Linked DNA regions of Homo sapiens: regions 2, 3, 4, 5, 6 and 7 are each linked to region 1. The links are contacts of gene promoters, found by promoter capture Hi-C in blood cells and fetal thymus (Javierre and others, 2016). All regions are on one chromosome and are shown on one strand. The core of a region is centred on a gene start or on the middle of the fragment in contact, and the rest is flanking DNA. Distances in the headings are between cores, read along the strand shown. Region 1 holds the start of PGRMC2 (progesterone receptor membrane component 2). Region 2 has its middle 97 kb from the start of JADE1. Region 3 has its middle 12 kb from the start of LINC03140. Region 4 has its middle 42 kb from the start of JADE1. Region 5 has its middle 12 kb from the start of PLK4. Region 6 has its middle 24 kb from the start of JADE1. Region 7 overlaps MFSD8 (major facilitator superfamily domain containing 8).

The links. Contacts are between HindIII fragments. The CHiCAGO score rates a contact against its expected background, and 5 or more counts as called.
Region 2: a fragment that was not itself captured here is called in contact with the fragment with the promoter of PGRMC2 in region 1 in 1 of 17 cell types (fetal thymus); the score reaches 5.6 in fetal thymus.
Region 3: a fragment that was not itself captured here is called in contact with the fragment with the promoter of PGRMC2 in region 1 in 2 of 17 cell types (megakaryocytes and M1 macrophages); the score reaches 9.0 in megakaryocytes.
Region 4: a fragment that was not itself captured here is called in contact with the fragment with the promoter of PGRMC2 in region 1 in 4 of 17 cell types (activated CD4 T cells, non-activated CD4 T cells, total CD4 T cells and 1 more); the score reaches 6.2 in activated CD4 T cells.
Region 5: a fragment that was not itself captured here is called in contact with the fragment with the promoter of PGRMC2 in region 1 in 1 of 17 cell types (total B cells); the score reaches 5.2 in total B cells.
Region 6: a fragment that was not itself captured here is called in contact with the fragment with the promoter of PGRMC2 in region 1 in 1 of 17 cell types (non-activated CD4 T cells); the score reaches 7.7 in non-activated CD4 T cells.
Region 7: a fragment that was not itself captured here is called in contact with the fragment with the promoter of PGRMC2 in region 1 in 10 of 17 cell types (non-activated CD4 T cells, neutrophils, naive CD4 T cells and 7 more); the score reaches 13.6 in non-activated CD4 T cells.

What each region holds. Positions count from the first base shown.
Region 1 is chr4:128,286,223-128,289,796 of GRCh38, forward strand. It overlaps PGRMC2 (progesterone receptor membrane component 2), which reads right to left and starts at 1,591. Exons shown (of 3, transcript NM_006320.6): 1 at 1,151-1,591. The coding sequence starts at 1,568. RefSeq lists silencers at 1,231-1,290, 1,471-1,520, 1,531-1,710, 2,031-2,220, 2,592-2,886. The HindIII fragment of the contact is 4,970 bases long and covers 47-3,574 here.
Region 2 is chr4:128,710,373-128,714,058 of GRCh38, forward strand. No RefSeq gene overlaps it. Among named protein-coding and RNA genes, the nearest start is that of JADE1, 97 kb to the right of the region's middle. The HindIII fragment of the contact is 1,428 bases long and covers 701-2,128 here.
Region 3 is chr4:128,557,165-128,560,634 of GRCh38, forward strand. No RefSeq gene overlaps it. Among named protein-coding and RNA genes, the nearest start is that of LINC03140, 12 kb to the right of the region's middle. The HindIII fragment of the contact is 696 bases long and covers 1,337-2,032 here.
Region 4 is chr4:128,766,042-128,769,709 of GRCh38, forward strand. No RefSeq gene overlaps it. Among named protein-coding and RNA genes, the nearest start is that of JADE1, 42 kb to the right of the region's middle. The HindIII fragment of the contact is 209 bases long and covers 1,927-2,135 here.
Region 5 is chr4:127,866,828-127,870,364 of GRCh38, forward strand. No RefSeq gene overlaps it. Among named protein-coding and RNA genes, the nearest start is that of PLK4, 12 kb to the right of the region's middle. The HindIII fragment of the contact is 1,328 bases long and covers 796-2,123 here.
Region 6 is chr4:128,783,772-128,787,710 of GRCh38, forward strand. No RefSeq gene overlaps it. Among named protein-coding and RNA genes, the nearest start is that of JADE1, 24 kb to the right of the region's middle. The HindIII fragment of the contact is 373 bases long and covers 2,493-2,865 here.
Region 7 is chr4:127,961,066-127,964,601 of GRCh38, forward strand. All of the region lies in intron 1 of MFSD8 (major facilitator superfamily domain containing 8), which reads right to left. Among named protein-coding and RNA genes, the nearest start is that of MFSD8, 2.3 kb to the right of the region's middle. RefSeq lists silencers at 3,065-3,174, 3,285-3,414, 3,425-3,474. The HindIII fragment of the contact is 1,861 bases long and covers 826-2,686 here.

The DNA.
Region 1 (3,574 bases), core at 341-2,840:
TCTAATTTAATTATTTATTCTTATTGTAGTCACCACTTTTTTTTAAAGCTTAGTATTAATCAGTGCACAACCAGGATGCACAATGTTGCTCAACTGTATGATATACCAACAGGTTCCATGAGTCTGGGGTTTATTAACATAATCCAAAATGTATGCTACAACCACACTGTAAAAAAAGGGCGTCTAAATCAACTACCCTACACAAAGTTCCCTGAAAACAAAGTTCTCTCAAAACAAAGTTCTAAAAATCTTTAACTTGCATAACTGGCACATGGGGGTATAAATCTACAACTCTTCTAAGTTTTTTCTCCTTAGTTCTGCTAAGTGAAAACACAAGTCATTATCAACGTGTACTTGAAAAGAGAAAAAAAAAGAAAAAAGAAACCAGAGACACGCCTGCTGGGTATAGGAGCTCCACCCCCAAAACTCAAGGTGAATATCCTTACCAGTCTTTAATAAGCTCTGCATTCTGGTCTGTTCTCATCCCACATACCTTGTTAATCATGGAAAGCAACTCCGAACTAAAACTGGTTTAAAGAGAGTCCGAGGTGTTGCTTATACGTCTGGACTTCAGAGACTGGAGGGTTGGGACTTTACATGCCCCTAAACGTGGCCTTACGGAGTAATACAGCGAGGGAAAAAAGGAGATCAGTGGCAAAAAAAAAAAAAAAGGGGGCAAGGAAAAGAAAACGGTGAATTACAGAGCCCAAAACTTTAGTTTAGGTCCCAACTTCAGAAATCTCCCTTCCCTGGTGCCCCATCCATCCCAGGAATCAGGAGACTCAAAAAAGGTTAAGGGCCAGCGTTGACCTGTGACAACTAAAACGATTTTGAAAAATCCAGCCAAAGAAACAAAAAAAAAAGGCTGCGAGGAGAAATGGGATGGAAGAAAGATGAATGCTGAGAGCTGGTCTCTGGGGCGCCACCGGGGACCCTGGTTTCGGGGGAAGAACTGGAGGTGCCCGTAGCTGCGGGGGGACGGTGTGTGTGTAGGGGCGGGATGGGCCGTCCCAGGTGCGGCGGCCGAGGCGCGGGGGTCCCGGAGACGAGAAGGCTGGGCAAACTAACCCGGTGCCCAGAGGCCTCCCTGTCCGAAGGGGGTTGTGCTTCAGCTGCAGGGGGTCCTTCCCCTCCCCTTCCAACTCCTCACCCGGGCCGTAGAACTTGCTGCCTTTGGTCACGTCGAAGACTTTCCCATTGACCGCGAGCAGGATGCGCGGGTTGCGGGAGCCGTCGTACTGGCGCAGCTGCTCCAAGCTGAAGTCCCGCTTCTTCATGCGAGGCAGAGAGGTGGCGGGGCTCTCCTCGCCCGCCCCGGCCCCGGCCCCCAGACCCCGCCGCCCCCAGCGCACCCACAGCCGGTAGGCCCCCAGCAGCACCAGAGCCACCAGCGCCACGTTCAGCAGCATTTCCCCGCCCCCCGTCAGAAGCGCCAACGCCGCCGCCGCCCAGCCTCCCCCTTCCGCTGCCGCTCCCGCGTCGCCTGGACTCTCGCTGCCGCCGTCGTTGCTGCTCTCGCTGCCACTCCCCAGGGTGCCTAGCTTCACGTCCCCATCACCAGCCGCCATCACTGCCCGCCAGCGCCTTCCTCCTCCTCCCCGCCCCCTGCCCTCCCCAACCCCACGGCCGGCCCCGCCCATCTGGGGGCCTCTCAGCCAATAACGTGAGAAGAGGGGGCGGGGTCAGGCCGGCTCCTGATTGGGTGTTGACGGGGTAACGTTGTCTCGGATCTCCCGCCCCCTCCCTTCTTTCGCTGGCCGCGCACGCGTGCAACGCCCCGCCCACCTCGCCCCACACTTCCCTGCTCTCACTCCAAGCCTCCGCTAGGTTAAGTAGACGAGCCGGGCGGGTCTGAAGAAAAGATGCTACGACGGCCGCGCGGACGCTCATGGGCGGGGCGAGACCACAGCGCGTGCGCGGGCTCCTGAGCGCCACGCGCTCGCCTTTCGTTCGTAACCCCTGCGGGAGGCACGCCCCGCCCAGTCTCCAGGCTCTGCGCGTGCGCCCTGGAATCGCTTCCCTTCCTAGGCCTGCGTTCGCGTCCGCAAACTCCCGCCTCCTTGCGCTCCCCCCGCCCGGGAGCTTCACGTGCGCCTTGGCGGCCGCGGGGGCAGGTCCGGGCTGGACGCCTGGCGGAGGACGCGGGCAGGTGGCTTGTGGGAGGCTGGGGCATAGTTGAGCTGCAAGGCGCAAACCGATGAGGGGCGTCTGCTTTTCACCAGGGCGCCGTCGCTTTTGTCGGGAAACCGGCAGCGTAGGCGCGCAGACCGGGAAGCGGCAAGAAGATTTGGCCACGAGCTGGGGTCTTCCTGGAACGGAGAGAAAGCACGGAACCCGCACCGGGCTTCTCTGGCATCGGCAGTCTACGTGCTCCTCGCGCTGGCACCGAGCAGCCACTCCCCGCTGGGTTTGGCAAAGGCTGCTCTTGTAGAATTTTAAAGGATTTAGAGTCTCATTATTCCTTGAATCATAACTTCTGCGGCCGTAGGGAAGTGGACAGGTTGAGGTGGTCTTTCTATTCGTCATTCACTCTTATTTGCAGGTTCTGTTTCATGTACTTGGACGTCTTTTAGCCTCTCACACCTTGAAATTCTAGTGTGAAAAAGTGACCTCTGAAGTCTCACGCACTCAACTCGTTTGACGAACTCGTTTGACGTGTTCTCTCTTGCCCTTTGTTGTCTGTTGTCTTGAGTCTCATAGAATAGGTTTGAACCTTTCACTGTCGGTTTTGTAGGAGTCACTGAGGATATTGACGAGGCAAGTGACAGGGTCGACACTCTTGTAGAGAGGCTGTATAGCAACCAGGTGTCTGAAGGATTAGAGGCTGGGGAAAGAGTGGGAAAGCAGTTAGTAGGCTAGGGTATTTGTGCGTGAGGTGAGGAGACTCAGAGCTAGGGGAGACATTAGAGCAGGGGTTGGCAAACATTTTTTGTAAAGGGCCCGATCATATTTTAAGTCTCTGCCTTAACTACTCAGCTCTACCTTGTAACGAGAAAGCAGCCATAGACAATACTTGAATGAGTGTAGCTGTCTTCAGTAAAACTATGGACATTGAATTTTTAATATAATTTCAGGTATGAAATATTCTTTTGATTTTTAAGAAAATCATTGAAATATGTAAATTTTTTTTTTTTTAGTTCTGGAGAGGTGCAAAAACAACTTATAAGCCATATTGCTGAGCCCTGCATTAGAGGTACCTGAGGGAGAGCGACACAATTGGTAGTAAATGACCATATACTCTATCCTTCAATATGGAACACTTTTGGAAGTAAAGTAGGGCATTAATAATTATAGCCAGAGACCAGGAGTTATATCAGTTTTATCCCAGGCAAACCTAAAGGAATAGTCACCTTAAGGTTAAGGGTTAGGAGAAGTCAAAATTGCTTTAGGACTTGGTAACAGAAAATGGGAGGTGCCAGTGATGGAAATAGGAAGATAAAGAAGAAACTGGTTTTGAGGAGAAGATAGCTGTAGCAGTCCCAAGAGCTGTATACAGTTGAGACAACATTGATAGGAAGGAAGAAAGCACCCCAGAAGCAGGCCACTCCTTATATCTTATTGACCAGAACTGGGC
Region 2 (3,686 bases), core at 165-2,664, 420 kb after region 1:
ACCAAAATAGATAAATTAGCTGAGGGCAGTGGCACATGCCTGTAATCCCAGCTATTTGTGAGGCTGAGGCAGGAGAATCGCTTCAACTCAGGAGGTGGAGGTTATGGTGACCCAAGATTGCGCCACTGCACTCCAGCCTGGGTGACAGAAGCAAAACTCCGTCTCAAAGCAAACAAACAAACAAACAAACAAACAAAAAAGATTGGCAAAGGGATAGGAAAATATAGTGGTTTTGTGCTATGTAGGAAAGAGCAGTTAATTCAAAAGACTCCAGTAAACCTTATCACCAAAAAGAAAGATACTACTAAACCCAGGCTGCCAGCAGATTCTAATCTCCTAGAAAATGGGAGACTTTATGAGGTATTACAGAATGTTAAGGAGAAGAATACCTCATACTTGTCTATGCCTTACAGCTTATAAAGCATTCTCCCAGACATGTCCTGTTTTGAGCTCTGTACACAACTATGTATGTGGGGCAGGCATTGGGGTGGGTGTTACAGGGGAATGACAGACCTCAATCTAGTATACAATAAGTAACTTTTGAAAATTTTTAAGTGAAAAGGTGATACACTCAGATCTGTGCCATAGAAGATACTTTTGTCAGAGGGCAAAAGATGAGGACTTACCAGAAATTCATTTAAGGAGCAAGAGGTCCTACAGTAAGCTAGGACCTTGAGCCACAGCAATCGGCATGCTTGGAAGCTTTTTCTCCAAGACAAAAAAGTATTTCAGAAAAGATAAAAGGTATAAAATATTTAAAGAGAATAGGGGGCTTGTACCTCTTGTACCTCACTTTCAGTTTTCTTCCTTTCTTTTTATTATTATTATTATTTGTTGGTGTTCCTATTTCATACACATCCGTGCATTCACATGCAAATAATACATATCAACCTTTCAAATGTGTACAGATGCAAGGAAAAGTAGAGATTCTGAGCATTTTTGGTGGAATTTCTGTGATTCAAATGAATGAGAATAAAATGTAAATAGCTGGGGAAAAATAATTATCTGATTGTACATTAATTGTTATTTTCATTTAGAGGGTTTCAAGAATAGAACAGTATCCTCTGCTAATTGCTGCCTGTATTCATTATCTATTATTGCATAACAAATTTCCCCAAAACTTAGTGGCTTAAAACAACAATAAACATTTATTATCTCTGACAGTTTTATGAGTCAGGAGTTCTGGAGCAGCTTAAGTGGGTGCCTGGGGTCTCTCATGGGACTAGAATCAAGCTATTGGCTGAGGCTGCAGTCATCTGAAGGTTTGATCCCCTTTCAAGATGGCTCACACACGTGACTTGGATTTGGGGGCAGGGCTCAGATTTTCTCCACATAGACTCTCTCAGGGCTACTTGAGTGCTCTCATGACCTAGCAACTGACTTTCCCCGGAGCAAGTGATCTACTAGAGTGAGAGCCAGGCAGAAATAATCCTTTTTATAACCTAGCATTGGCTATAACATGACATCACTTCTACCATGTTCTATTCATTAGAAGCAGTTCACTAAGTCCAGCCCACATTCATTCAAAGGGAGAGGAATTAGGCTACAGCTTTTGAAGGAGGTGTGTGTCTTAGTCTCTTCCAGCTGCTATAATAAAATACCTGAGATTGGGTAATTTATAAAGAATAGAAATTTATTTCTCACAGTTCTGGAGGCTGGAAATCTAAGGTCAAGGCACTAGCAGGTTGGATGTCTGATGAGGGCCCAATCTCTTCTTCTAAGATGGTGCCTTGTTGCTGGGCACTTTGGAGGGGATGAATGCTGTGTCCTCATGTTGCAGAAGAAATGGAAAGGCAAAAAGGGACCAACCCATTCCTTCAAGTTCTATAAAGGCCTTAATCCTATCCATGAAAGTGAAGCCCTCATGGCCTAATCATCTCCTAAAAGCCCCACCTCTTAATACTGTTACATTGGGAAGCAAGTTTCAACATAAAATTCGGAGAGGATACGAACATTCAAATCATAGAAGTGTGTCTAAGATTTTGTGAATCTATTTTTTTTAAAAACCACACTTTCTTAACTTAAAAAATGGGTTTGGGTACTTTGTGCTCCAGATAAAATTCCCAACTTACTGAACAGCTTCACAGAATCAGATGTCCTAGGGAACTCCCATTCTTTGGCCAACAAAAGCTTGTCAACTTACTCTGAGATGTCTCAGAGTTGTGAAGGCCCACAATAGTCATAGTTGTGTTTTTTGTTTGTTTGTTTTTTGAGATGGAGTCTCACTCTGTCACCCACGCTGGAGTGCAATGGTGCGATCTCAGCTCACCACAACCTCCGCCGCCTGGGTTCAAGCGATTCTACTGTCTTAACCTCCCGAGTAGCTGGGATTACAGGCACATGCCACCACGCCTGGCTAATTTTTGTATTTTTAGTAGAGACGGGTTTCTCCATGTTGGCCAGGCTGGTCTCGAACTCCTGACCTCAGGTGATCTGCCCACCTCGGCCTCCCAAAGTGCTGGAATTACAGGAGTGAGCCACCATGCCTGGCCCATAGATTTTTTTTTAAGTGTCAACCTTGTAATCCAAAGAGAAAAAGGAACCTAAAAGTCCAAACCACTGTAGCATCATCATTCAAATTATTTTCCTTGGATATCAAAAGAAAGAACAATTTTTGAAAGTTAAGTTTCAGTGTCAGAGGAAGGAAGAAGCCCTAACAAGTTCTGAGGAGCATAAACTGCAAATAATGTAATTACAACAATTTGATACTTATTAGAAATCAGGAAAAACACCTCCTACCTAGAAAACTGAAACATTATTACAGTCAAACAAGAAACTTTTCTACATTTAGCCAAGTGAAGAACAAAAAAGTCCTCAAGACTTTTGAGAATGCTGCCTGGGAGAACAAAAGATCAGTACCCTAATTACTTTGGTAACTTTCCATCATAATCAGTGTGGCAGTTTGTTTTGCTGCTGCTTCTCCTTTCCCTTTTAAATGATCTGCAACTTGTCTGTCTTTTAGATCTAAAAGATAGGCAACCATTTTCTTCTGTCTGTTGCTTTGATTCTTGGCTTATCAGAATTTCTCTGTATCTGAGCTGAAGTCAGGAGTCAGCTTCAGAGAACAAATCTCAGGAAGTAAACAAGTCTGCTAAAAAACAAAATAACAATTTGCAAACAGCAGCACTATTAACAAGGACCCTCAAACTGGTATCCTCTTAGGAGCAGAGTGTCTTAGTCCATTTTCTTTTGATATGACAGAATACCACAAATTGGTAATTTATATATAAATTCCCTTTATATATAAAAGGAAGAAGTTTATTTAGCATATGGTTTTGGAGGCTGCGAATTCCCAGAACATGGTGCTGGCATCTGGTGAGGGCCTTCTTGCTGTATCATGGTATGGTGGAGAGCATCACATGGCAAGAGGGCAGGAGCACGCGAGCTCAGATCACTCTTCTCCTTACAAAGCCACCAGTCCCGCCATGGAGGCCCCACCCTGATGACTTCATCTAATTCTTTTTTTTTTTTTTTTTTGAGATGGAGTCTTGCTCTGTCACCCAGGCTGGAGTGCAGTGGCATGATCTCTGCTCACTGCAAGCTCTACCTCCTGGGTTCATGCCATTCTCCTGCCTCAGCCTCCTGAGTAGCTGGGACTACAGGCACCCGCCACCACGCCCAGCTAATTTTTTGTATTTTTAGTAGAGACGGGGTTTTATCATGTTAGCCAGCATGGTCTGTATCTC
Region 3 (3,470 bases), core at 435-2,934, 270 kb after region 1:
TGCAGAACACTCCTCCAATAATGTTTAATCCAAAGGTAAACTCAACTGTCTCCTTTATTTTCCAAAACACACAGCATGGCTGTGACCAAACTGGAACTATTTTTTTTTTTTAGGCAGGGTCTCGCTCTGTTCCCCAGGCTGGAGTACACTGGCACAATTATAACTCACTACAGCTTTGAACTCCTAGACTCAAGTAATCCTCCCACCTCAGCCTCCCGAGTGGCTGGAACTACAGGCATATGCCACCACACTCAGCTAATTTTTTCTGGAGAAGGGTTCTCACTCAGTTGCCCAGGCTGGCCTCGAACTTCAGGCCTCAAGCAATCCCCCCACCTTGGCCTCCCAAAGCCTGAGATTCCAGGCATGAGCCACTGTGCCTTGCAAACTAGAACTTTTAAACAAAATTTTTAGGCACCAAAAAGTTTGGGATAACAAAAGAAAACTACATACTAAGGAGAACATAAAAATGGACTATCTGGTTTGCAAGACTCAACTCTTAACTGTGTTTCTGCCTCTATTGGAGGAAATCATCAACCTCTACCACTTAGCCATAGGCCAGGTCCCAGAGAGTGATGAGTCTTCCCTTTCTATCTATCTCAGGCTCCCTTTTTCCATCCAGGGACCCCTTTTCCCTGGATAAGAGATAGGGGGAATGTCTGCCCCTTCAGCAGACATTCAAGCCCTCCTTGGCAGAGCCTTATTCTATGACCTCTGCAAGCTCAGGAGGCACCTGGATTGCTCAGCAGCCCCAGGAGACACACCAGAGCATAAGGGGTGTTGATGTTTGGGACACTGTAGGAAAGTCAGGACCAAACCCAAAATGCTTTCTTATAACGATGCTTCTTACCCTTATTTGTGTTTATAACATATTTGCAAATGTTAAGACTCTTATCAGTGTATTTGAAGAAATTAAAAATGAACAAGTCAACAACAATTATAAAACAATCATTTTGGTTGGGCGCCAGGGCTCAGGCCTGTAATCCCAGCACTTTGGGAGGCTGAGGTGGGCAGATCACTTGAGGCCAGGAGTTTAAGACCAGCCTGGGCAACATGGCACAACCCCATCTCTTCTAAAAATACAAAAATTAGCTGGGTGTGGTGATGCACACCTGTAGTCCCAGCTACTTGGGAGGCTGAGGCAAGAGAATTGATTGAACCTGGGAGGCGGAGGTTGCAGTGAGCCGAGATCGTGCCACTGCACTCTAGACTGGGTGATAGAGCGAGACTCTGTCTAAAAAAAAGAAATTTAAAATAAAACAATCATTTCTATAATATAAAAACTTTATCACTTTTATCAATAAATTTTATCAATTTTAAAGTGATAAGAAAAGTGATAAGCTTTGCTACTGTTGAATAGAACAATGTATTGATCTGACTTATATTCTCCAGGCCTCATGTGGTCACCACCTATGTTCTATTCCCAGAAGTTGCTCCTTTGTTCTACATCATGTTGCCTCTGCTCATTGAGCTCTGTGGTCCATCTGATGGACATCGTAAGAACAGGCTTCCTACGCAGATGTCACCAAAATCAATGTTGCATGTTGTTCAAAATTTGTTAGCACACTTACAGAGCTTTCTCAGACATACCAAAGTGCCCATGACCTTAGTTGACAATCACAGTACTACATTCTTAGGGTAACTTGAACAAGGTCAGAATTTTTATATTACGTAATTGTGACTAATCTTGTTATATGAACTTGCTTTTAGTATACATATATAGGTATATGAAAAAATATTTGCATTTAAATTTCCTCCATGTGTGAATTTAGATGTATGAGTTTAGGGGGGTGTGTGTGTTTTATATAAACAATATGGCAAGGAATGCTGGCTAAAATACAAAGATCTACAGATGACTCTCTCAGGATGGGCCCTTGGGTGTTGTGGTGTGGTGACTACCTCAAAACAAAGGGAAATGTTTTGCTATGAATTTCCTGTTCATGGAAAACTATATGGTTGAAAAAAAAAAATCTTCTTTCCTCTTGAGAACTGTCCGTGTGCCAAAGTAAGAAGAAGCTCCTGAAAGGATTACTCAAGCTTCCCCTCCCCCACATCTTCTCCTCATCCCCAAAGCCTAATAATTCTGAAAAAGATGAAATGGAAGGGCACTTGTCACTAAACTTCTTAGCACTTTAAAATAGCCAGACGCATTGCCTGAGACTATGGCAAGTTTGGACTCACACCAGCCGTGAAAATACTCTGTCTTTTTTTAGGAAGTAAATTGCATACACATCACAAAGAGTATTCTGAAAGTGGTTTTCTTTCTGCTTTGTCTGAACGACTTGCACGTCAGCCTTAACCATGCTCTGAGCTCATAAACATGTTCTTCAGCTTGCCAAACTCCCCAACCTCTGCTCAGTTGCCAGAGTGGCGGCATTGTATTACTCCGTTGCTAGGAGGGCAAGACAGCTGAATCCTAGGCCTAGAAAAGATGTCGAGATGGTATATGTAATGTCCTTGTTTTATAAATGAGGAGCTTAAAGCTCAGAGAGACTGCATGGCTTGCTGGAGGCCACAAGCTTGTCTGTAATAGTCTTGGAGCTGGTTGATTCTGCCTCCTCAGTTGATTCAAGGCTGTAACTCCTGCACCATTACTGAAGCCCTTTGAACACTGCCAGATACTATGTAAATGTAAGGTATCTGTGGAAGGCTGAAGCTGCCAGACGTTTGTCTGTCGTAACGAAGGTTTCAGGGTAAGAGGAACTCTTTCCTTCAGCCAACTCCCTCTGTCTCTTCTAAAATGACTGAGAATATACAAGAACCTTTTAGCCTCATTATGTGAAGCCTTGAGAATATAAAGTTTGTGAGCTGGACACAGTGGCTCATGACTGTAATCCAATCGGAGCTACTCTGGAGGCCGAGGAAGGAGGATCGCTTGAGCCCCCGTTCAAGACCAGCCTGAGCAACATAGCAAGACCCTATCTCTAAAAAGTTAAAAAATAAATTAGCCAGATCTGGCAGCACATGCCTGTAGTTCCAGCCACTCGGGAGGCTGAGGTAGGAGGATTGCTTGAGCCCAGGAGGTCTAGGCTGCAGTGAGCCATGATCATGCCACTGCACTCCAGCCTGGGCAACAGAGTGAGACCCCATCTCTTTTAAAAAAAATGTAAAGTTTGGGGTAATTTAGATATGAGGACATATTCTTACAGAATAACTTCAAACTAAGCATTTATTTTCAGAATGGTGAGTACTTATAAGAGGAGTTGTGTCTAAAATCAGTAGTTCAGAAATGATTTCATGAAAATAACTTCATCTTCTAGGTTTAGCATCTAATTCTACAAAGAAAAGAAAATATTATACTTATGACATATTACTATGTAACATCCTGAGGCCCACTGACTTGTGATTGGTTTTATTCATTTCATTCACATTAATCTTAGTTTTTATCCTTCCTTCAAATGTGGGCTGGATTGTTTGACATTGTGATCACACAGAAGTAACAACATACATGATTCGCTCCCCTAATTCTATAA
Region 4 (3,668 bases), core at 781-3,280, 480 kb after region 1:
GAAAGAAAGAAAAAACAGAAATTCCTTTTTTTTTTTTGAGACAGAGTTTTGCTCTTGTTGCCCAGGCTGGAGTGCAAAGGCGCAATCTCGGCTCACCACAACCTCTGCCTCTAGGTTCAGGCAATTCTCCTGCCCCAGCCTCCCGAGTAGCTGGGATTACAGGCATGTGCCACCACGCCTGGCTAATTTTGTATTTTTTTAGTAGATATGGGGTTTCTCCATGTTGGTCAGGCTGGTCTCGAACTCCCGACCTCAGGTGATCTGCCTTTCTAGGCCTCCCAAAGTGCTGGGATTACAGGCATGAGCCACCACACCCGGCTGAAAAAACAGAAATTCTGAGACTATCATATCCAAGAGGTGGCTCAGGAGACACGAAAATATAATGTACTATCCTGAAACCAAAAAAAGACATTAGGTTAAAAAGTAAGGATATCTAAATAAGTATGGATTTTAGATATTAATCATGTTTTAATATTTGTCATTAATGGTAATATACAATAATAGGTGAAACTGAGGGAGGTGGTAGAAGTGATATGGGAACTTTCTCTACTGTCTTAATTTTTCTATAAATCTAAAACTGTTCTCAAAAAAAGGGTCATCACAAAAAAAAGGGGGGGTCATGAAGTCAGTGGTCTATGAAACCCTGTAAAAATGTGACCCATCCCCCTCTATGTATAACAAAAAAGTTTTCTTTCTTGTCTTCCAGCTGAGGAAGTATTTGATTGGTTTGGTTGGTTTTTGCTAAACACAGAAGAGGTCTTTGCTCAGAGACACAGAAAGTGTTTCTCTTCTCTTCCTTTGGTGTTATGAGTGAGCTTGCCAAACTCGAAGGCAGATGTCTTAGCACCTTCCAGTGTTAATATAACTATGTATCTGGTTGGAACCTGCCCCGAGGCTCCCAAGGCAGCTAATAAATGGCCAGTAATGAACACTGATGGCCAGAGGCTTCTAACCATTAGGACAGTGGACCCATTCTTTCCCAGTCCTCAAAGTTCAACCACATGCAACTAGAAAGATAGTTTTAACCAATCCAAAGTAATGTTGGTTACAGAATCTCTTAGCACCAGTGTTCAGACAGGATTACACGTTGGGGTTTTCATCTTCTGATCCTAGCATGGTACCTAACACTCGGTAGGCACTTAACACATGTTCATTAAGTAAATGGCAATGTGTTCCTAGAGTTCAGGGCAGAATTTTAATATTTCGTATATGGGTCTAATAAAGCAAAGAGCCGTATAGCCTGGCTGGCAAAATAATTATCACCTAAAAAATTTATTAGGCATTTTCTAATTCACGAAATTTATCCGTTATTAGTTCAACTACTATAAGTTTCAAGCCTCTGAATAGCAGAACAGTTCCTGTTATGGGAATGTTGGGTCATATGTCACTTGAAAGGTATCTTTCCCTAAGTATCTATTAATGTGCTAGCGTGGACTCAAAACTGGCCTATCAGGAATATTTAATGTTTCTCTCATGAGGAACCTTGAAGCAGTCGAATTTTATAATTTTTTTGTGTATTTTTTTATTAGTTACAGAACCTTGCCAATTCACTCAAGCTAATCTGCAAGTCCTGTCATTATCACAAAAAAGTACTCTGGCAAATTAACCCCATTTCTCAATGCAGGCTTAATAGGAAAGAGAGCTATTTTGAAAGCTCAGGGGATTACAAGCACTCTTTACAAAACGTACTGCAACACACTAGACTGTGAGATACAGCCTTAAATAGTTAAACAAGTCCATCGACATAAACTGGGTACATTTCCATCCTTGATTCTTCCCTATTGACTTCATTACTTAAGATGTACCTGACTGGAAGCCGGAAAAGGCCTCTTGGGAGTGAGCAGCCCTGGTGGAGGGGAGCAGAGGGAGCCCCTTATTTATGAGGGAGAGAAGACATCATTGGAAACGTATAAGATTTGAACAACAAGCTTCACTGGAATATTATTGAGAGAGCAATACTTGGTTATATATAATCAGGGGTTTTGTAATGAATCTGTGGAAAGGTAACCAGTAATTGCTTAGTATAATCTAAAACTCTGAAAACCTTGTGATAAAATAGCTACAAAGAAATCAAATCAAAACACAGTCTCAGATGTTTTGATCATTGAAGTTGGAACAATTGGGATAGCCTTGAAAGCTTATCTCTAAAATAAGTTCTTACAGAACTCCGTGAGCAGAGACCAAAAGCAGACTTTTAGAAGAACTAACTTCAAAAAAGATTCCCTATATAATAAGAGTCATTTTAAACTGAAATGATCAAGACCTCCTAGGGATTCTAGGTCATGCCTAAACCATCACGGTCAAGTTGGACATGTATAGAGACCTGGTACTCTCACTCTTCCACCTTCGGCCCCACTTATATCCCAGGCTGGGCATTGAAGTTCCCCATCAGTCAGTTGGACGGGGGTACAGGACAGGCCCCTTTAAACGCAGAACTCCCTCAATACTGCAGAACACTGGAAGAGCTCTTGTTCAAGTGGGTAAGTGCAGCCTGAGTGTCTGGTGAGATCAAACCTGAAGAGAGCGTGAGATAAGGAGAGAGTTGAGTCATTAGTCATCTCTTTTAACTAACTCTCTGAAGTTGGCTGGCTTCACACTAGACCTGGTGATTAATGGTAAAGAGATAGCTCTTGCAATTCAACTTCTGTAAGTAGAAAGAAATTTAAAGCTTCCCCTGAGCATTCGCTTCCTCTTCGAATGCTTCAAAACAAATCTCAGCATCAGTAGGCTGATGCCAGTTCTCATCATGCCCCACAGGCCTTGATGAGGGAGACGGAGAGAGCCAGGTGTGCCCTATTGAACAGGCCCCAATGGTTCTCTGCCTTTTCATAGCAATCTCCTAAAGGGAGAACCAGAGTCATCAAATCTCAGGACAAAATGGCAGCCCTAAGAGGGCAATCCACTGTCAGAAAGCATGCATAAGCTATTATTCTGAAGAGAAGAAGATTATTTCCATTCACTATAGGGCTAGTCTGAAGTTTGCAAAGAAGTCCTTTTCATTCAATTATCCCTTGAAGGAAAGTATGTATGTAAAAGTTAAGAAAATTCAATATCAAAAATAGTTTTTGTTTTGGCTTTGAAATTTTTCTTAATATGTAAGCAAAATTCTTAGTTCTGGAGTTGCAGTTACTCAGTTATCAAAAATGATACAGATAAGATAACAAACCCCATTAACCACCCAGTTGCTCAAACAGAAATCTAGGATTCATGTTAATTCCTTTCTTCTTTCACCCCTCACACCCAATCCATTTGTTTCATTAGTTCTCCCTTCAAAATACCTTAATTCATCCACTTTCTCCATTCTCATGGCACCATTCTAATATAAATCATGTCTCACCTGAATTGTTATCATAACCTCTTAAACAGAACTAACTCTTGCTTCCATAGTCTATTTCATGGCAGCCAGAGAGAGATTTTTAAAACACCCATAAGATCTGTCCAGGCATGGTGGCTCATGCCTGTAATCCCAGCACTTTGGGAGGCTGAGGCGGGTGGATTGCCTGAGGTTAGGAGTTCGAGACCAGCCTGGCCAACATAGTAAAACCCTGTCTCTACTAAAAATACAAAAAATTAGCTGGGCGTGGTGACAGGTGCCTGTAATCCCAGCTACTATGGAGGCTGAGGCAGGAGAATTGCTTGAACCTGGGAGGCGGAGGTTGCAGTGAGCT
Region 5 (3,537 bases), core at 210-2,709, 420 kb before region 1:
TATGGAACCAAAAAAGAGCCTGCATATCCTAAGCACGACTAAGCAAAAAGAACAAATCTAGAGGCACCACATTACATTACCTGAGTTCAAACAATACCATAAGGCCATGGTCACCACAACAGCATGGTACTGGTATAAAAAACAGGCATATAGGCCAGGCGCAGTGGCTCATGCCTGTAATACCAGCACTTTGGGAAACTGAGGCAGGCGGCGTTCGAGACCAGCCTGGGCAACGTGGTGAAACCCCATCTGTACTAAAAATACAAAAAATTAGCCAGGGGCAGTGGCAGGTGCCTGTAATCCCAGCTATTCAGGAGGCTGAGGCAGGAGAATTGCTTGAACCTGGAAGGCAGAGGTTGCAGTGAGCCAAGATCATGCCACTGCACTCCAGCCTGGGCAACAGAAGTGAAACTCTGTCTCAAAAAAACAAAACAAAACAAAAAAACAGGCATATAGACCAAGGGAACAAAATAGAGAACCCAGAAATAAACCCAAAGACTTACAGCCAACTGATCTTCAACAAAGCAAAGAAAACCATTCAACAAATGGTGCTGGGATAATTGGCAAGCCACATGTAGAAGAATGAAACTGGATCCTCATCTCTCCCCTTATACAAAAATCAACTCAAGATGGATCAAAGATTTAAATCTAAGACCTAAAACCATAAAAATTCTAGAAGATAACACTGGAAAAACCCTTCTAGACACTGGCTTAGGCAAAGACTTCATGACCAAGAACCCAAAAGCAAATGCCACAAAAACAAAGATAAATAGATGGGACTTACTTAAACTAAAAAGCTTCTGCACAGCAAAAGAAATAGTCAGTAAATAGACAACTCACAGAGTGGGTGAAAATCTTTGCGATCTATACATCTGAGAATGGACTATTATAATATCCAGAATCTATAAGGAATTCAAACAAATCAGCAAGAAAAAAACAATTCCATCAAAAAGTGGGCTAAGGACATGAATAGACAATTGTCAAAAGATATACAAATGACCAAGAAACATAAGAAAAAATGCTCAACATCACTCATTATCAGAGAAATGCAAATCATAACCATGATGGGATACTACCTTACTCCTGCAAGCATGGCCATAATAAAAAAAAAATTTTTTTTAAAAGATGTTGGCATGGATGTGGTGAAAAGAAAACACTTTTACACTGCTGGTGGGAATGTAAACTAGTACAACCATTATGGAAAACAGTGTGAAGATTCCTTAAAGAACTAAAAGTAGAACTACCATTTGATCCAGCAATCCCACCCCTGGGTATCTACCCAGAGAAAAAGAAGTCATTATACGAAAAAGATACTTGCACATGCATGTTTATAGCAGCACAAATCAACTACAAAAATATGGAACCAGCCCAAATGCCCATCAATCAACAAGCAGATAAAGAAAATGTGAGATATACATATATATATGTTCTATCAACAAAATCTATTTTATCTGTAAACCATAATAAAGCTGTTGTCTCTGTGTGTGTGCGTGTGTGCGTGTGTCTCTGTGTGTGTCTTCTATCAACAAAATCTACTTTATCTGTAAACCATAATAAAACTGTTGCAAGTATAGCACTTTCTTGAGGGCTGTGAGTCAATCTAGGAAATTACATACATACCATGGAATGAATACTACTCAGCCATAAAAAGTAACAAAATAATGGCATTTGCAACAACCTGGATGGAATTGGAGACCATTATTCTAAGTGAAGTAACTCAGGAAAGGAAAACTAAACATCATATGTTCTCACTCTTAAGTGGGAGCTAAGCTATGAGGATTCAAAGGCATTAAAATGATAGAATGGACTTATGGACTTTGGGGACTCAGGGGAAAGGGTGGGGAGTGGCGAGGGATAAAAACATAAATTTATTTCAGGTTGTGGGCTCGCCGTGATGGAAAGACACATCATGTGATTAAAGAGTTGGGCTTTTTGAAAGGTGAAATCAGCCCAACCTTCAGGGAGGAGTAGGGGGCTAGAAATTGAGTTCAATCGTGTGACCAGTGATTTAATCAATTTTGTCCGTGTAATGAAACCCCAGTAAAAACAACACTAAAGCTCAGTCTTCTCATTGGTGACAAAAATTAATGTGCCAGGAGGGTGATGCATCTTGATGACACAGAAGCTTCATGTTTGGGACCCTGCCAGGCCTCACCCTATGCATATCAAAATAAATAAATAAATTACTAATTTATGATCACCAAGCAGTGTTATTCAAGAAATGGAGGAATAATCAGGAAATCAACAAAATCTATTTTATCTGTAAACTTGTCACAAACTTTGAAGAGTCTTGGATTTTGCCCTACTTGCAAGGTAACTCAGCCTGACACAGTCTCACTGATGCTGGTAAAGTTGGCAAATACCCAACTTTTGGTAGTATACATAAAACTCCAGGACCAAGGGTGAAGAACAATTTATTTTTTAAAAAATAGCAGTAGCCTGGCTATCAGCAATTTTGTGCCTATTCCCTGAGGCCTAATTCTTACCAGGCAGCACAAATAGAATGATGACACCTGCACATACAGTGGGTTGCATTTTAGGAGAAGAGTCTGGCTTACGAGACCGATTTTTTTTCCTTTGCAGAAAAACAAACAAAAAAACACCACAGAGGCCAGTGCAGTGGTGTGTGCTGGGGATGGTTGAGGTGAGAAGATTGCTGGACAAAATAGAGAGACCCCCTCTCTAAAAGATACATAAATATATATTTTTAAAAACACATAAATCTACCCTCTTAACAATTTCTAAGTGTACATACAGTACAGTATTACTAATTAAATGCACACTGCAATTCAATACATCTGTAGAACTTTTTCATCTTTCATGATTCAAAGTTGAGCTAAAAGTTGAACAACAGCTACCTGTTTCCCCTCCCCCTTCCATGGTAGAAGGGGCCAAATACCATTCTACTCACTGTTTCTATGAGTTGGATTTCTTTGAATCCTTCATATAAGCAGAATCATGCAGCATTTGTCTTTTTGTGATTGCTAATTTCACTTAGTATAATGTCTTCAAGGTTAATCCAAGTTATCCAAATGAAAAGATTTCCTTCTTTTTTAAGGCCAAATAATATTTTATTGCGTATATAAACCACATTTTTATTTATTTTTATTTTTTCGATGAGAAAAAAAGTGAAGTATTTATTTTCATTAATATCTGACTGAAGATTAGGATTCCATAAATATAAACAACAAATCACTGTAGTAGCTATATAAGTCACTATAGTAATTTTGCAACTACCAAAAATTGCAAACATTTTCACATTGCATTACAGATGTAGGTATAATAAAATATTACTTGCAGTCATTGCTACTTTAAAACTATAGGAGTTATTAAATCAGCTGCTAGATTTTTATAAATATACACATTGCATTACATCACAAAGTATAAAATATTTTGATAATTTTATTTCATAATAATTTCCTGCAATCCTATGTATTTTATGCATTTAAAAACATTGCTCTGAGAAAGGTCCATAGGCTTCATCAGACTGTCAAATCACTATCTTGTGCAAAATCAAGAACCCTTGTACTACAGGAA
Region 6 (3,939 bases), core at 1,429-3,928, 500 kb after region 1:
TTATGAACAGAATTCCCTAGGTATTTGTTTATGTTTGTTTGTTTTGAGACGAGGTCTTCCTCTATGGTCCAAGCTAAGGTGCTGTGCTCACTGCAGGTTTAACCTCCTGGGCTCAAGTGATCCTCCAACCTTAGTCTCCCACATAGCTGGGATCTCAGGCGAGCACTACCACATCCAGCTAATTTTTAATTTTTGTAGAGATGGGGTCTCCCTATGTTGTCCAGGGTGGTCTCAAACTCCTGGACTCAAGTGATCCTCCCACCTTGGCCTCCCAAAGTGCTGGGATTACACGTGTCAGTTACCGCATTTGGCCCCCGTAGAAATATGTGGCTCTAGACTTCGTGCAATACCAGCTTTGGAAGGTATATTCAAAAGAATTTGAGAAAAATCTTTTGTTTTTTAAAGCAATAAGTGTTTTATTTTATTTTATTTTATTTGTTTGTTTTTTGAGACAGATCTCACTCTGTCACCCAGGTTGGAGTGCCCTGGTGCGATCTGAGCTCACTGCAACCTCCGCCTTCCAGGTTCAAGGGATTCTCCTGCCTCAGCCTCCTGAGTAGCTGGGATTACAGGCACGCACCACCATGCCTGGCTAATTTTTGTATTTTTAGTAGAGATGGGGTTTCACCATGTTGGCCAAGCTGGTCTCGAACTCCTGACCTCAGGTGATCCGCCCACCTTGGCCTCTCAAAGTGCTGGGATGACAGGTGTGAGCCACCACACCCGGCTTAAAGCAATATGTATTTTAAACCTAGGTAGGTTGACAATTAAATATAGAAATGATTAAGAAAATCAAACATGCTGGGCACGGTGGCTCACGCCTGTAATCCCAGCACTTCGGCAGGCAGAGGCGGGCGGATCACCAGGTCAGGGGATGGAGAACATCCTGGCTAACACGGTGAAACCCCGTCTCTACTAAAAATACAAACAAAACAAAACAAAAAACAAAAAAACATTAGCCGGGAGTGGTGGCGGGCGCCTGGAGTCCCAGCTACTCTGGAGGCTGAGGCAGGAGAATGGCGTGAACCCGGGAGGCGGAATGGCGTGAACCCGGGAGGCGGAGCTTGCAGTGAGCCGAGATCGCGCCACTGCACTCCCGCCTGCGCGAAAGAGCGAGACTCCTTCTCAAAAAAAAAAAAAAAAAAAAAAAAAAAGAAAAGAAAAAAGAAAAATATATTAGTCGTGTAGTACTTATTTAAAACATATGATCTAAGTAATTGACTTACATTTGTGATTTTAAGTGGAAATATTTCAAAATGTAAATGTAATATTAGACATTTAAAAGAACCTAAAATTAACATATTTTTAAGATTAATCGATTGCATATATATGAATCACATAAATACTTGAAAAGGAATTTTTGTCAGTCATACAACTGAAGTACTTGACAAAATAAATTAATTACTTTAAGTTTACAAATGCAGATAAAATACTTAAAGTAGGTTAAGTAAATTTATTTATTTATTTATTTATTTAAAAAAATTTTTTTGAGACAGAATTTCAGTGTCATTGCACAGGCTGGAGTGCAGTGGCGCGATCTCGGCTCACCACAAACTCCGCCTCCAGAGCTCAAGTGATTCTTCTGCCTCAGCCTCCCGAATAGCTGGGATAACAGGCATGTACCACCACGCCAGGCTAATTTTGTATTTTTTTGGTAGAGGCAAGGTTTCTCCATGTTGGTCAGGCTGGTCTCGAACTATCCACTTCAGGTGATCCGCCTGCCTCAGCCTCCCAAAGTGTTGGGATTACAGGCTTGAGCCACCGCACCCAGCCTATTCTGTATGTTTTTATTTTATTTATTTATTTTTTTGAGACAAAATTTCACTCCTGTTGCCCAGGCTGGATGGAGTGCAATGGCGTGATCTCGGCTCACCACAACCTCCGCCTCCCGGGTTCAAACGATTCTCCTGCCTCAGCCTCTCCAGTAGCTGGGATTACAGGCATGTGCCAGGATGCCCAGCTAATTTCTATTTTTAGTAGAGACGCAGTTTCTCCTTGTTGGTCAGCTGCTCTCGAACTCCCAACCTCGGGTGATCTGCCCACCTCAGCCTCCCAAAGTGCTAGGATTACAGATGTGAGCCACCGCACCCAGCTGTTTTTATTTTTTTTTTAGATAGAGTCTTGCTGTGTTGCCCAGGCTGGAGTGCAGTGGCGTAATCTCGGCTCACTGCAACCTCTGCCTCCCCGGTTCAAGCAATTCTCCTGCCTCAGTCTCCCAAGTAGCTGGGATTACAGGCATGTGCCACCACGCCTGGCTAATTTTTGTATTTTTAGTAGAGACAGAGTTTTGCCATGTTGGCCAGGCTGGTCTCGAACTCCTGGCTTCAATTGATCCACCTGCCTCGGCCTCCCAAACTGCTAGGATTACAGGCGTGAGCCACCACGCCCCACCAATTAAGTAAATGTATAAATTTGACCAAACATTAATCAAAACCCTCCTCAAAAGTGATTAAATTTAGCTATATCTGTACAATTTATAAGTTGAATTTATAAGCTTACAGAAAAATCCTCGAAGGTTTTGATTTTGTAAAGTCAAATATTAATTTTCAAAGCCAGGCAACTTCTGAATAATTTCTTTCTTTTTTTCTTTTCTGAGACAGAGTCTCACTCTGTTGCCCAGGCTGGAGTGTAGTGGCATGCTCTCGGCTCCACTGCAGCCTCCATCTCTTAGGCTCAAGCAATCCTCCCACTTCAGCCTCCAGAGTAACTGGGACTACAGGTGCACGCCACCACGCTGACCTGAATATTAATAATTTTTTCTATTTGCAAAAGCCGCCTTTGAGGGAATATATTGAATTGGATGGCAGATAAGGAAGGGGAGGTTGGGGAGAGATTTTGGCTGATGGGTCAGGCCCTGACTGAATAAGCTTGGGCCTGTCTCTAGCTGCCTTGCGAGGCTAGCTGCTCCAGTGCTATGAGCCCCTCAGTGCTGAAGCCGCAGGATGGGGGAAGGGAAGCAGAAGCCATGCCCCTGTCTGGGTTTGTCTGTCCCCAGGAACCCCTTGTCCTCACTGTGCTCTGTGCATGTAATAAATGATGCACTGGCCTTAATACCAATTCACAGCATGATTCTTGTCTCTCCGAAGGAGCTGAGCCCGTGGCGTAATGGTCTTTCTTTATTAACTTGCTCTTTGATCGTCCAAGGGACTCCTAACTGACCTGCAGAACTAATTGTGGCTGTATTAAGCAAAGAGTACAGTAAAAACCCAAAGAGGATCCTGAGCATAAGAGCTGCAAATTCACCACATTGTAGTGACATGACTGATCAATGTACAATGAAGACATAGCCAAACACTGATTAATAGTGAGTGGCAGAGCCTCACATTTCATTTTTGGTTGTAATATATTACTGTTTTAAAATTTGCTATAACTGGGCCGGGTGCAGTGGCTCACACTTGTAATCCCAGCATTTTGGGAGGCTGAGGCCTGTGGATCACTTGAGGCCAGGAGTTCAAAACCAGCCTGGCCAACGTGGTGTAACCCGTTTCTACTAAAAATACAAAAAAAATTAGCCAGTTGTGGTGGCACACACCCGTAATCTCAGCTACTCAGGAGGCTGAGGCAGGAGAAGCGCTTGAACCCAGGAGGTGGAGGTTGCAGTGAACCGACATTGTGCCATTACACTTCAGCCTGGGCAACAAGAGTGAAACTCCAACTCAAAAAAAAAAAATAAAAATAAAAATAAATAAATAAATAAAACTTGCTGTAACTGGTCTTATTCCTAAACCCCCTGCCCAGCTTGGATGTGGGGCAAGAGTGTTCTTAAATTTCCTGTTAACTGTATTTTTCTGTCTTCTATCAAAGTCCAACTCTCAGTTGGTGCTCTTGGCTTGGGATGGTGTCCAGATGCAGGAAGGAAGTCTCAAAAGCCTGGAGTGCTGGAGTGAGGTGGCCTGCTCTCCACACTGGCACGTGCGAGGTTCCCGACTTTGCTGCCCT
Region 7 (3,536 bases), core at 506-3,005, 320 kb before region 1:
TCAGTGGGGAGCACTGAGGATTCAAGAGGCCAGCTCCACCAGACCAGCAAATAATAATCAACCTTGTTAGTGAGGAAAAGTTGGTGGTGACCTAGACATGTTTGTGCAATATATTCAAAGTGAACAGGTCCTGCCAACTAGTTGTACATAGGTTCACTTTACTAGGGAATATACTTGTTTTTAAAGACATATACTTATTATTTTCAAAATACTCCCTTTTTGTTTTTAAAATGCTAAATCTAGAACCTCAATCAGAGGTATTGATTATTGGCAGGAACACCTAAATCTGGACAGATCCTAATGAGCATCAATCACTTTGATGAAATCAAAGCTAAGAGTATGAAAAAAAATTCTCTTTTGTACAAGGTGACAGAATGTACCAGAAGACCACATTTAAACATAACTCAGGGATCCTGCAATTATCTGGAAAATAGCTAAAAACCAGGACGAAGCAAAAAGAATTCTGAGGCCGGGCACGGTGGCTCACACCTGTAATCCCAGCACTTTGGGAGGCCGAGGCGGGCGGATCACGAGGTCAGGAGATCGAGACCATCCTGGCTAACACGGTGAAACCCCGTCTCTACTAAAAATACAAAAAAAATTAGCCCGGCGTGGTGACGGGCGCCTGTAGTCCCAGCTACTCTACTCGGGAGGCTGAGGCAGAAGAATGGCGTGAACCCGGGAGGCGGAGCTTGCAGTGAGCCGAGATTGCGCCACTGCACTCCAGCCTGGGTGACAGAGCGAGACTCCGTCTCAAAAAAAAAAAAAAAAAAAAAGAATTTCTGAGTTCTGAGAAAACCAAATGTCATGAAGTCCACGCACTCAAGCTTATGCACTTAACTAGTAGGAAAGACATTTAGCTCTCAGTCAGAACTACCAGGTTGTAATGACACACAGTTACATTAAGCATAGATCCAGGGTTATCAAAGCTATAACAAACAAGAAGCCCCAAATTAAAGCTGGTGGAAAGAGTATGGTGACAGCAACAACAATAAAACAACTGTTGCTGCCAGATTTCAAAAACATGATGCAGAACAGTCTGCGAGGAAAACAGTCTGTCAGAAAAACTAAAAAGCAGACGTAAGTACTTAAAAAGTATAGCAACGGGCCTCAGAGCCTATTGAGACATTTGGGACTGTTTGCTTCTACACCAGCACTTTGGGAGGCTGAGGTGGGTGGATCACTTGAGGTCAGGAGTTCCAGATCAGCCTGGCCACCTGGTGAAACCCTGTCTTTACCAAAAATACAAAAATTAGCCGTGTCTGGTGGCCCACGTCTGTTAATCCCAGCTACTCCAGAAGCTGAGGCAGGAGAATCGCTTGAACCTGGGAGGCAGAGGTGGCAGTGAGCCAAAATCGCACCACTGCACTCCAGACTAGCCCACAGAGCAAGACCCCGTCTCAAAAAAAAGTATAGCAGTGTAGAATAAATTGGTATAGAAGCAACAGTCCCAAATGTCTCAATAGGCTCTGAGGACATCACTCTATTAAAATTCATATCAGCATCGATATTCATTTTAATGATCTCAAGATAAAATCAAGTAAAGATAAAACTGCACTCCAGGCTCACCACTGCACTCCAGACTAGGCCACAGAGCAAGACCCCGTCTCAAAAAAAAAGTATAGCAGTGTAAAATAAATTGGTATAGAAGCAAACAGTCCCAAATGTCTCAATAGGCTCTCAGGACATCACTCTACTAAAATTCATATCAGCATCTAAACTCATTTTAATGATCTCAAGATAAAATCAAGTAAAGATAAAACTGCATTGCATAAACTCTGTTTAGTAAATCGAGGACCAGAGAAATACATTTGCCAAAGGGTTTTGAGTTAGAGTGCTCACAAAAGGTTGGTGCTTAAGGGGAACAAATGAGTAAAAATTATTATGGTCATAGACAGCTGAAGTTTAACTGAATTTATTAATTTACCTGAGGTAATTATTATGTATATTTCAAATAAAATAGTAATTCCGTTTTCCTAAAGGTAAAAATACATTAGGTATACATTCCCGAGTCACTGCCCATAAACTAGGATCAGAACAACCAGAATTATAAGGATCAAAATACTGACGTTATTCCTTTAATGCCTTAAAATTAGTCTTTCTTTGTACATTTGGCATAGGACAAAGGCGAGCTCATTTTGGACAGATTTGTTAAACTATCAAGAGGTTGTCAGGCAATTAGGCAGCAGGTCATTACTAAGACCGATACCTTCAAGTATCTATTAAAACCATCATTTTGAAACTGTGAAATCTGGAAAGTGATCAGCTACAAAGGGCCAAATATGGAATGCAGAAGATACAGAATGTGGTGGCTTTGTGTCCGGGATTGGTGGGTTCTTGGTCTCACTGACTTCAAGAATGAAGCTGCGGACCCTCGCGGTGAGTGTTAACAGCTCTTAAGGTGGCACGTCTGGAGTTTGTTCCTTCTGATGCTCAGATGTGTTCAGAGTTTCTTCCTTCTGGTGGGTTCGTGGTCTCGCTGGCTCAAGAGCGAAGCTGCAGACCTTCGTGGTGAGTGTTACAACTCTTAAGGCGGCGCGTCTGGAGTTGTTCGTTCCTCCCCGTGGTCTCGCTGGCTTCAGGAGTGAAACTGCAGACCTTCGCGGTGAGTGTTACGGCTCATAAAAGCCGTATGGTCCCAAAGAGTGAGCAGTAGCAAGATTTATCGCAAAGAGCGAAAAAACAAAGCTTCCACACTGTGGAAAGGGACCTCAGCGGGTTGCCACTACTGGTGGGCAGCCTGCTTTTATTCTCTTATCTGGCCCCACCCACATCCTGCTGATTGGTAGAGCCGAGTAGTCTGTTTTGACAGGGCGCTGATTGGTGCGTTTACAATCCCTGAGCTAGACACAAAGGTTCTCCACGTCCCCACTAGATTAACTAGATACAGAGTGTTGACAGAAAGGTTCTCCAAGGCCCCACCAGAGTAGCTAGATACAGAGTGTCGACTGGTGCATTCACAAACCCTGAGCTAGACACAGGGTGCTGATTGGTGTGTTTACAAACCTTGAGCTAGATACAGAGTGCCGATTGGTGTAGTTACAATCCCTGAGCTAGACATAAACGTTCTCCACGTCTCCACCAGACTCAGGAGCCCAGCTGGCTTCGCCCAGTGGATCCCGCACCGGGGCTGCAGGTGGAGCTGCCTGCCAGTCCCGCGCCGTGCACCCGCACTCCTCAGCCCTTGGGTGGTCGATGGGACTAGGCACCGTGGAGTAGGGAGCGGCGCTCATCGGGGAGGCTCGGGCCGCACAGGAGCCCACGGAGTGGGTGGGAGGCTCAGGCATGGCGGGCTGCAGGTCCCGAGCCCTGCCCCGCGGGAAGGCAGCTAAGGCCCGGCGAGAAATCGAGCGCAGCGCCAGTGGGCTGGCACTGCTGGGGGACCCAGCACACCCTCCGCAGCCGCTGGCCCGGGTGCTAAGCCCCTCATTGCCCGGGGCCGGCAGGGCCGGCCTGCTGCTCCCAGTGCGGGGCCCGCCAAGCCCACGCCCACTCGGAACTCCAGCTGGCCCGCAAGCGCGGCGCGCAGCCCCGGT